2 separate regions of the Homo sapiens genome follow, and region 2 is linked to region 1. Evidence: promoter capture Hi-C in human tissues and cell types (Jung and others, 2019). All regions are on one chromosome and are shown on one strand. The core of a region is centred on a gene start or on the middle of the fragment in contact, and the rest is flanking DNA. Distances in the headings are between cores, read along the strand shown. Region 1 holds the start of LACRT (lacritin). Region 2 holds the start of OR10P1 (olfactory receptor family 10 subfamily P member 1).

Evidence for each region. Contacts are between HindIII fragments. The study calls those that stand out against the background at their distance.
Region 2: the fragment with the promoter of OR10P1 here is called in contact with the fragment with the promoter of LACRT in region 1 in 1 of the 25 tissues and cell types used here (mesendoderm cells).

What each region holds. Positions count from the first base shown.
Region 1 is chr12:54,631,693-54,637,253 of GRCh38, forward strand. LACRT (lacritin) reads right to left here and starts at 3,203. Exons shown (of 5, transcript NM_033277.2): 1 at 3,092-3,203; 2 at 1,488-1,541; 3 at 549-689; 4 at 46-147. The coding sequence starts at 3,149. The HindIII fragment of the contact is 5,914 bases long and covers 1-5,277 here.
Region 2 is chr12:55,634,227-55,639,787 of GRCh38, forward strand. OR10P1 (olfactory receptor family 10 subfamily P member 1) reads left to right here and starts at 2,666. Exons shown (of 1, transcript NM_206899.1): 1 at 2,666-3,607. The coding sequence starts at 2,666. The coding sequence ends at 3,607. RefSeq lists an enhancer at 2,503-3,004. The HindIII fragment of the contact is 17,045 bases long and covers 1-5,561 here.

The sequences.
Region 1 (5,561 bases), core at 1,953-4,452:
TGAGTATTCTCATTCCCACAAAGCCTTGCCTTGGGATGCACTCACTTTCGATGAATTGTTTTCCACCTGGCACGCCTCCGTGCATTCCTTTTCCTGCTTTTGCAAGGGCTTGTTCTGTTAGTAAGATACTTTTCTCCACTATGGATTCTAATTTTGGAGCAGAACAATCACATCAGCAGAAAAATCACCTCATTTAAAGAGAACTCTGCATTGCCCCACCTGCACCCGCCCCCCACCCCCACTCCACCCAGGACATCATCCCTACAGAAAGTCCTAAAGTGCAGAAGTTTTGCTGAGGGCTCCAGCACTTCTCTCATAGGAAGTTGTGTGAGCCAGGACAGAAACCATGTATTGTGCAGGCTGCAACATCTACTATTGTGAAAACGTTGTGTGTGGGTGCAATGCACAATCCCATTTGTGCCTTTGTGTTCAGCTGTTTGAGTCTACCTGCTTCTCACCAGGCTTATCTCTGTGCGTGGAGGTGTGATGTGGGCCTGCAGCCAGAGACTTTTCTAGGTTGTTGATCTGGCATAGAGACAGAGACTTACTCAGGGGGTTTAGTTCCTGCCTGCTTGAGGTGACCTTGGCTGTCCCCTGAACTGCTGCCGCCGAAGTCTCCTGGGCTGTTGTGGTTGTCTCTGGGGGTGAAGCTGGTTCTGCTGGACCTGAGATCTCTTCATTAGGCTTAGCTGTGAATGCACAAATTGATGGATTTTAGCAAAGTGAAAGTGTTTGTTTCTTTTGGAATGGGTTGCAGGGCCCCAGGATACCTAATGTGTGCTGGGTGCCAGGATACAGAAGTGATATGGCTTAAACGCTGCCCCCTTAAGGGAGATAGCATTTCTGCATGCTGTGTGTCTCTTGGAATGCAGCGGGCAGGGTTGGGGAAGGATTTGGACTAGGGGATGGTGAGAATCGGGGAGCACTTCATAGAGAAGCTGGATCTTGAAGGCAGGATGTTAGCAGGAGAGGATGTACCAAAGGGGCTTCCCTGGGGGCAGGCAGTGAGTAAGAGGTCAGGCGAAGGCATGTGTGGGGAATGGAAACAAGTTCAATTTAGCTGATGTGGGTGCGACATAAAAGAGAGTCATGGAAAATGGGGTTGGAAAATGAGGTTAGAGGCCAGATAATGGTTATCTTGCTAAGGAATTGGGAGTAATGGGAGGTGTTTGCAGGTGAAGGTATTAATGCCATGTGAGACATTGCCCTTACCACTTAACCTCATGTTTCTCTCCCTTTTATTCACAATAACCTTTTCCCCATGCTCCCTATTGTCCTTGCCTCTCTGGGTCATCCTCTTTTGTCCTTAGCCTTGTACCATTTCAACCCATGCCACCTTCTTTATTATATTACCTGCCCCTCCCCATTACCACCAAGCACAGAATCCAGATCTCCTCCCACTGGCTTCTTCTCCCAGCCACCACTCACATCCCTAACTGTTAAACCTTCCCAACGAGGGCTAGGGCAGCAGGGAGAGGAGGACTCACAGGTCCCAGCTTCCTGGGCAGGATCAGCACCCGTCGAGTCAGAGGAGGCATCTTCTGCAATGGGGGAAACATGCCAGATGAGAGCAAGGACCGAACCGGACCTACTCGAGCCACCCTCCCCTCCCATTCCCAAAGCTTATCTCCTGGGAATGCTCATGGATAGAAGGGGATCAATTTCCCTTTGGGTTGGACATGCCCTTCCACCATATCAGCGGGTCTACTGGGGCACTCTCTGATGTTTAACTCCTGTGGCTTTTGAAATAACTTCCCCTCTGAGAAGTGTAATGTCTCTTGGAACAGTGCCTTCCTCCTGACTGGCCCCTGGCTTGGTAGGCTTCCCTGAGGTGTCTGTCATGGAGCTGGCCATGGTCAGAGGGGCTCAACCTCCTCTGTGGTGGAGGAGGACAGTATGTGGGGGTTATGGGGCCATATTTGAGCGATTTGCAGGATTGAGACCCCAGCCTTGATTCCCTTTATTCTTTCAACACAACATTTATGCAAAGCTCTGTGCCAAGAGATGGAGGTGCAGTGCTGAAGAGGGCAGACAAGACCCCTGCCCTGACAGAGCTTACATCTGTCCTTTTACGAAATTATTTAATGGCTGGTGTGACAGTGCTGGAAGGGAACGTGCAGCCTGGTGCGAGAAGGGCACATGGATCTGATTTGTTCCGCATGTGCATGGAAGGCCTTTTTGGGGAATTATATGTAAACTGAGATTTTCTAGATGAAAAATCATTGGCCAGGTGACATTAGAGTTGGTTGGGGGAAGGGGCCAGGGAGAGGGAAAGCATTCTAGACGAGGAAAGGACAAGAAGGAAGATCCTGATGTTCAAGGAACAGCAGGATCATCATGGCCCAAATAGTGCTTCTGTGGATCAAAAAAGGCATCCCAGCAGGGCACGGTGGCTCACGCCTGTAATTCCAACACTTTGGGAGGCCAAGGCAGTCGGATCACCTGAGGTCAGGAGTTCGAGACCAACCTGGCCAACATGGTGAAACACCGTCTCTACTAAAAATACAAAATTAGCTGGGCAAGGTGGCATGAGCCTGTAGTCCCAGCTACCCAGGAGGCTGAGGCAAGATAATCGCTGGAACCCAGGAGGTGGATGTTGCAGTGAGCAGAGATCGTGCCACTGCACTCCAGCCTGGGCAACAGAGGGAGACTCGGTCTCAAAAAAAAAAAAAAAAAAAAGGCATCCCTTCCTCCTAAGAGACACAGCCAGGGGCCAGGCTCACTGCTTGGCAAGTAGAGTGTCGGCCAGATTTTAGCTTCTACCACTCCTTGCCTGGGCACCCTCGTGTAGGGGACACCCTGCTCAACTACATGCAGGGGACACCAGAGAAGCCAGTGTAGCTGAGGCATAGTGGGTAAACAATGGTGTGTGAGGAGATGAGCTGGGAGGGCAGGCAGAGGCCAGAGAGTTCTGGGTTCCTCTGGCCAGTGGGGTGCAGAGGCCACGTGTGGAGAACTGGGAGAGGAGTCACTTGCAGAGGCAGGGAAACCAGAATAGCACTGAGAGAGGAGGAGAGGGGTGAAGGCAGGAGTGAGGGGCTCCTTGGACTGGGAGGACTCTTGTGGGGCGCAGAGGAAAGGCCATACTCACCAGCATAGACCAGGGCCCCTGCTACAGCTGCCAAGAAGAGGAGAGTGGTAAATTTCATTCTTTGGGATGAGGAGTGAGTATAACCACAGAATCTGCAGAAGGTCTGGGGAATAAGGATGCTGAAATTGCTGGGCCCTTTTAAGGATATCAAGGGCCAATGGGAACCAAGCCTGGAGAGGTGTGACTTCCGCATCCTCCTCCCCTTCTTCCCCAAACTGTCACCTGCTAAGTCAACAAGGGCTAGGTTGGGCTGGCTGATACCTGGGATCCTTGCAGGCAGGTCCTGGATAGGAGCCTTTCTCTAACTCCCAGCCATCCCTTTTCTTTCTCCCTCCTCCCTTCCCCACCACACCTGCCCTCTGGGTTCACACCCCTGGGCTCTCAGGGACGGTAGGTAGAGCACATTTCACTTGGGGAGATTCTGGGATGTGTCTGTTGAGGGTTCTGGTAGAGAAATCTTAATCTTGTCATCTCTCCAGGAGGAGGTTGAGGGCTCAGGGGATTACATTGTCCACCTTCTGTCCCAGTCTACATAGGACTCAGTGCAGGGTTTGAAGGTTTCCCCAAACTAAGTGAGCCCGTTTCCTTGGGAGACCACACCTAGAACACTTGAGGCCTGAGTTCCTGGCTGCTTTCTCCCCATGAGGGGATGGGTTTGAAGGCGTGTGTGCCTTCTCTGGAGTTGTTCTCTGTTCTTGACATTATCCAGCCCCTAAAAAGAACTCCTCCAGGCTCACATAGGCCTGTCAATCTCTGTCTTCAGGCCTACTCAATGGGACCCCACATTTCTGAGAGAATCTCCTGGTCAAAGCATGATGGTGGTTCACTGAAATTGGAGCTTGGTTCTGACTTCAAGTGGGGAGCTGACCCATGGTGTGAATAATCCAGAAAAGCAGATTATTCTAAAGAAGCTTCTCTTTGACTTGGCGTTTCTTCCTTTCCTGATCTGGGACTCTAGAGGTCTGGATTTTGAGTTCTGGCTTTGTCATATGAAAATGTTAGGATTTGAAAAGTGATAGGATTTTTATTTGTTGTCTAGGAGTTGTGGCTCCTATGTACAGCATAGTGGTGGAGATTAAGTGGGATAATATACGGCAAAGCATTTTTTTAGACAGCGAAGTTCTATGGAGTTGTGTGGGGTTCTTGTACCATCTTTCCAAGTAGGTTTTTGTCCAGGCTGGTGCTAAATGCTAGATATTAATAGAACGGGCCGTGGAGCAGGAGTCAGTTGAGGGGCTGAAGGGTGGAGAATAAGGTGCTGGATGTCAATTTGTGACTTTCCCCTTGCTTGGTGTTGGCATTCACCCAGCCCCATGTGGGCTGATTCCGGAGGCTTCTCTGCCTCATGGTAGCTCTGAAGATGAGTGTGAGAAGGGGGTATTGAAGAGTTTTCAACATGAGGGTGTTTTGGGTGCCAGGGTTTAGAACATTAATCTTTTCAGGAGATAAAGGAAGATAAAATTAATGGGGTGGGACATTAAAGCCTTGGCAATTGCTACCTGCCTGAGGGTCTGGGCCTGGGAGCCTTGAAGGTGGTGGTGGCCTTACCTGGAATGGGGAAGGCTGAAGAACAAGAGAAAGTTTTGATGGCACCAGTGCCCTGGGTATGTGCACATACGTGTGTGCACGTGTGTGTACACTGCAGAAGGAGAAGTCCTGCAGATCCCAAACAGATCTAGATCCCGAGCAGTCTCCATGAGCACATTAAAAAAGTCAACAGGAGCAAATTATGCTATTTGCACAAGACTTTTCTAAGAGGAAATGAGAACTTTGGCGTCAACACTAGAACTGTCACAGAGCAGGGTCTTTCCAAATGTCACCGCATAGCCCTTTCCTCTCCCAAATCTTCCTCCTGGCCTCAGTAATTAAAGAGGCAAGCATTTACATAAATAGGGATGAGGTGAAAGTAAGGACATTTGTTTTATAGAAAATTTTCATTATTCTATAACAGGGCCCAGAGAAATGTTACCCCAAATTATAGAGCCTGGGAAAGAATTGGGTGCATAGATTAAAGAGGCAGACCTCATGGATATGGGTGAGAGGCTGCTCTGTGCAATGTCTTGACGGACCTCATGGATATGGGTGAGGGGCTGCTCTGTGTGATGTCTTGTTTTCTAGGTTATCTGACCTCCATGATGACTGTCAGTTCGCTGATCTGTGTCTTGTCTCATGGGCTGCTCGTTGTACCTCTCTCCCCTCTGCCTCAGGTTTATTCTCTCTCATCTCTGCACTGGTCTGGAAGGATGCCTCTATGGGCTGTATCACCTGGGCTCCCATGCCCTCTAGCTTCGAGTTGAGTTTGGCCAATGGGAGACACAGGTGGGAGATGGGAGGGTGGGAAAAGGGAGAGATTAAGGCATTTGTTCCTCCTGCTCCCTCTCTTGCTTTGGCATGTGTGGTAGGACGACTTCAGAGATAGCTCCTGGTGATGCCTACGTCTTGGCATTGGTGCCCTGCTGTAATTTCCTCT
Region 2 (5,561 bases), core at 1,416-3,915, 1.0 Mb after region 1:
ATGGTGGATTTATTCCAAATGTTTCCTAAATATTTTTAATTGAAAAAAACAACATTTTAAAAATTTGAAAACATCAGGATCTATTTCGTGTTTTCTTGGTGGTGTGGACATCTGAAAAGTTTTTTTTTCCTTTTTAATCAGCCAGCCCAAAATGTCATGAAGATTTATGGACGAAAGTAGAGAGGACTAATGAACTCAGATACTCCTTCTGTCCAAACTGACTACATGCAAGTTCATCTCCCAAAAGTGTAGAGTGAGGCTATTGGCCTCACAAGACATATAGTAAGTATGTGGTTGATACCTCAGGCTCAAAATTACAATTCTGGTTCTGCTGTTCACTGACTTTGTGATCTTGCATAGGTCGTTTAAACCCTCAGAGCTCTGGTTCTTTATCTGCAATGACAAAATAACAATTGTCACTAATGTTGTTATAAAGGTCAACTGATATACTGTATAATCCCCAGCACACAGCACTCTCCAAACATAAGCTAGAATAAATGGTTTAAGGCCACAAAAAAAAAAATATGTTGAGAGAGCAGAGTGAGGGTGGGATGAAAGTTAAGTGCAATGGATAGAACTTTGAGGCTCTGTTTCCTAAATATGAAGATGGCCAGACTAACCTCATGGCGTGGGTCAATATGGGTGATCAAAGCTCCGTGAATCTTGGGACCAGGACTTCTGAAAGTCCAGTCCAGTTTCCTGTCTTTGTCAAACTAGCTGCCTAAATTTAGGCAAATCACTTAATTGTTCTATTTATCAGTTCCTCTGTCTTTATAACTGAGATTCGTTCACTCATCTAATAAATGTTTAGCGAACACTCGACATGGTCCAAGTACTGAGCTTGTTTTTCTGGTGATTAACCTCTTTTTTTTTTTTTTTTTTTTTTTTGAGGCAGAGTCTCACTCTGTCGCCCAGGCTGGAGTGCAGTGGCACGATCTCGGCTCACTGCAAGCTCCACCTTCTGAGTTCACGTCATTCTACTGCCTCAGCCTCCTGAGTAGCTGGGACTACAGGCGCCCACCACCACGCCCAGCTTATTTTTTGTATTTTTAGTAGAGACGGGGTTTCACCGCGTTAGCCAAGATGGTCTCGATCTCCTGACCTCGTGATCCACCCACCTCAGCCTCCCAAAGTGCTGGGATTACAGGCGTGAGCCACTGCGCCTGGCCTTGGTTTTTTTTTTTTTCTTTTTTTTTTTTTTTTTTTTTTTTTGACTGGTGATTAACCTCCAAGGCAGTTGATAACTTGGTGGTTAAGATCACAGGCTCTGGGGTTAGGCAGACCTGGATTTGAACCCAAACTCTGTCACTTACAAAATGTGTGACATTGAGAAAGTTACTTAACACTGTCTGGGCTTCCCTCTCCTTATCTGTAAAATGGAGAAAATGAAGGTTTCTATGTCGTAGTGTAATTAGGAAGATCCAATGATTTAATGAATGTTTAGCCCTTAGCATGGTGCCTGGCAGGAACCAAGCACTTGGGAAACATTAGCAGCTGCTAAAATAGGTAACTGCCTCCCCACCTCCCCACCACGTCCTGCAGGATCTCACAGTGGAGTAATAAGTGCTAGGACAAAAGGACAAGCAACATCTCATGAAAGCAGAGATAAAAGTGCCTTCCTCAAATACTCAAGGGCTCTCTGGTGCAAGAGGAGTTAAATATTGTATGAAATACTAAGCATTTAGCCAAGACCAATACAGTAAAGTCTTTTCCTACAGGCAGAAGAGGCCATAGCTAGAAAGGGCTACCTCAATAGGTGGTGAGTTCCCCATCACTGCAGATGTTCAAACAGACTCTGCACAGCACCCTTCTAAAATGTTGAAGATAAGATCCAAGTACTGTCATATGGAAATATATGTTCCTAAATGTCACTTTTAATCTTGAAATGCCATGGATAATTATTTCTGAGCCTGAGGATCACAGAAAGCTGCCACCGAGATAGCGAAACTTGAGTGAAGGCTTGAAGTGTGATGGGATTTTAATATGAAGAATAGAAATATCCTCTGAAAGGAGACACTATGGCAATGCATGGAGGCCTGACAGAACAGGGTGTGCTGGGACAGAACAGCTAGTGTAGCTGATCACAGGGCCCCAGATAAGAGGAGAACAGAGAAATCAGGGAAGGTGTCAGAATCCCAATGATACCATTGGGCAGTATTATCACAAATAGTCATATCACTGTGTGACACTCTTAACCCACAGCTCACTATGGTGAACATTAGACACCAGTTCGGGACAGTCCCTGGTGCTACCCAGTTTCTTTTGTGCCTCAGCATCCATCTAGAGAGTACAAAGGGGCCTAGGTCATAGCAGCTGCTTCACCCCTCACTCTGGAGAGAGATCCAAAGATCAGAGCTAGAGTCTTTACATATGAGAGTCAGGCCCCAGACACAGGACGAGAGCCCAGGAAACAGTGAGAAAGGCGTCGAATTTGGAGTCAAGAGACCTGGATTCAAGTTCCAGGCCTGCCACTTTCTAGATATTACCTCAGACACATTATTTAATCTCTCTGAGACCCATGGCTCATTCAGAGAAAGGTATTAATTCTCTCACTTGATTTTGAGAGGAACTGTGTGGCAAGTGCTTTACCAAATTACAGAAATGTTGCTTGTTATTTCTAAATAACTTCTCTTCTTGGCTGTGCCTCAGCTTCTGGCCTGGAGTGATGGCTGGGGAAAACCATACTACACTGCCTGAATTCCTCCTTCTGGGATTCTCTGACCTCAAGGCCCTGCAGGGCCCCCTGTTCTGGGTGGTGCTTCTGGTCTACCTGGTCACCTTGCTGGGTAACTCCCTGATCATCCTCCTCACACAGGTCAGCCCTGCCCTGCACTCCCCCATGTACTTCTTCCTGCGCCAACTCTCAGTGGTGGAGCTCTTCTACACCACTGACATCGTGCCCAGGACCCTGGCCAATCTGGGCTCCCCGCATCCCCAGGCCATCTCTTTCCAGGGCTGTGCAGCCCAGATGTACGTCTTCATTGTCCTGGGCATCTCGGAGTGCTGCCTGCTCACGGCCATGGCCTATGACCGATATGTTGCCATCTGCCAGCCCCTACGCTATTCCACCCTCTTGAGCCCACGGGCCTGCATGGCCATGGTGGGTACCTCCTGGCTCACAGGCATCATCACGGCCACCACCCATGCCTCCCTCATCTTCTCTCTACCTTTTCGCAGCCACCCGATCATCCCGCACTTTCTCTGTGACATCCTGCCAGTACTGAGGCTGGCAAGTGCTGGGAAGCACAGGAGCGAGATCTCCGTGATGACAGCCACCATAGTCTTCATTATGATCCCCTTCTCTCTGATTGTCACCTCTTACATCCGCATCCTGGGTGCCATCCTAGCAATGGCCTCCACCCAGAGCCGCCGCAAGGTCTTCTCCACCTGCTCCTCCCATCTGCTCGTGGTCTCTCTCTTCTTTGGAACAGCCAGCATCACCTACATCCGGCCGCAGGCAGGCTCCTCTGTTACCACAGACCGCGTCCTCAGTCTCTTCTACACAGTCATCACACCCATGCTCAACCCCATCATCTACACCCTTCGGAACAAGGACGTGAGGAGGGCCCTGCGACACTTGGTGAAGAGGCAGCGCCCCTCACCCTGAAGGGACTCGGATGTCTGCTCACTCACTCAGTGCTCATCCTCCCACTCTTCAGGGACTGGATTTAAACCCCACTCTCACAGAAATCATGCAGCACCTCAAAGGAAAAGGCTTCCTGGAAGAAAGTGCTGAAATTAAAACAGAGATAAATCTACATATTGCCTCTTATCCCAGAGTCCACACTCACTATCAGAGCATGGGTTATTAGGTCAAGGTAGAATGAAAGTGATTGCTGCCCTAGGGAAAGGACATTTATTTAGCATCTTCTAGATTGTTCTGGATCCCTGAGCACAGTGATTGCCATGGCTGCACCGGTAGCCAGAGGTCCATGTCAGTCATGAAAGCAGGTGTCTGTGAACTTGACATCCAACTAAGTGGCCCACCCAAAGCCTGTGGAGGAGTTTACCTAGCCCCTCTGTTACATTTTCTTCCACCACCTGTGTCTGAGCTTTCCTCTACTCAGTGGAACATCTGTTCTCCCCTTGGCCTTCAGGAAGAGGGGCATCTGAGGGTTCCAGTCATAAGGCTCTCTCCTTCCCAAGATACCAGCACAAAAGGGAAGATGGTCAGATGGTATCAAAAAGGACCAAGTTAAACATCAGGAAAAGTTATCTCCCAGGACAGCCTATACATGTCTCCCAGAAACACACTGGGGTGTCCTACTGTGGGTGCTTTTGGGAAAGAGCTGGTCAGGGATTCCAGAAGACCCACCAGCTTGAGAGGCAGGATCCAGAGCTGGAGCTAACCAGGGAGCCAGAAGCAAGACAAGGTGGAAGGAAAACACTCCCATCCCTCTGTGCTGAGGTGCCACCGGCTGCCCACTTCCCTCAGCCCAGGGACAGATGTTTCTCCTGCTTTATTCCCTGGAGCCCCCCATAGCTAAAGGGCAGCAGAAGGCCGAGGCAAAAAGACAGGCTGTTCCACGTCCCCTCTATTCCCTCACCTCTCACACATCATTACCACCTTTGTGTCCTCTAGCCAAGAAATGCCAGAAACTCTGGCTTTCAGTGAGGAGAGACCTCAACATTTCATCAATAACATGAGCTGTTCAGGAAATGATGGGAACCCAGTCTTCCCTCTTACCACCCCTGTGATCTTCAAGGAGTCCTTATCCCTCACAGAGGCTCTGCTCTTGTGCGAAGGAGTATTCAGCCATGGGAATCAGTGTGTTCTTCTGTAGCCCAGCCTCTGCACCCACTTCTTTCTTTTCTTTTTTCTTTTTTTTTTTTTTTTTTTGATGAAGTTTTGCTCTTGTCGCCCAGGCTGCAGTGCAAAGACGCAGTCTCGGCTCACTGCAACCTCCACCACCTCCCAGGTTTAAGCAATTCTCCTGCCTCAGCTTCCCAAGTAGCTGAGATTACAGGCACGCCCGGCTAATTCTGTATTTTCAGTAGAGATGGGGTTTCACTATGTTGGCCAGGCTGGTCTAGAACTCCTGACCTCAGATGATCCAGTCAAAATAAGTCTCATGAAGTTGTTCTCATTCCTAGAAATAGAGAGTAGAATGGTGGTTACCAGAGCCTGGAGAAGGAAGTGGGGAAGGGGACATAGGGAGGGATTGGTCAGTGGATACAAAGGTACGTTTAGAAGGAATAAGTTCTAGTGTTCTATGGCACCATAGGGTGACCTCAGGTAACAATATTGTATTGTAGATTTCAAAATAGCTAGAATAGAGAATTTTGAATGTTTTCACCACAAAGAAATGATAAAGGCATAAGGTAATTATAAATTTAGAAAGGGAGATTTCTTTTTTTTTTTTTTTCTAAGACAGGGTCTCACTTTGTCACCCAGGCTGGAATGCAGTGGTATGATCTTGGCTCACTGCAACCTCAGCCTCCCTGGTTCAAGTGATCCTCCAGCCTCAGCTTCCCAAGTAGCTGGGACTACAGGCACATGCTGCCATACCAGCTAATTTTGGGGTTTTTTTGTCTGTTTTTGTTTTTTTGTAGAAACGGGG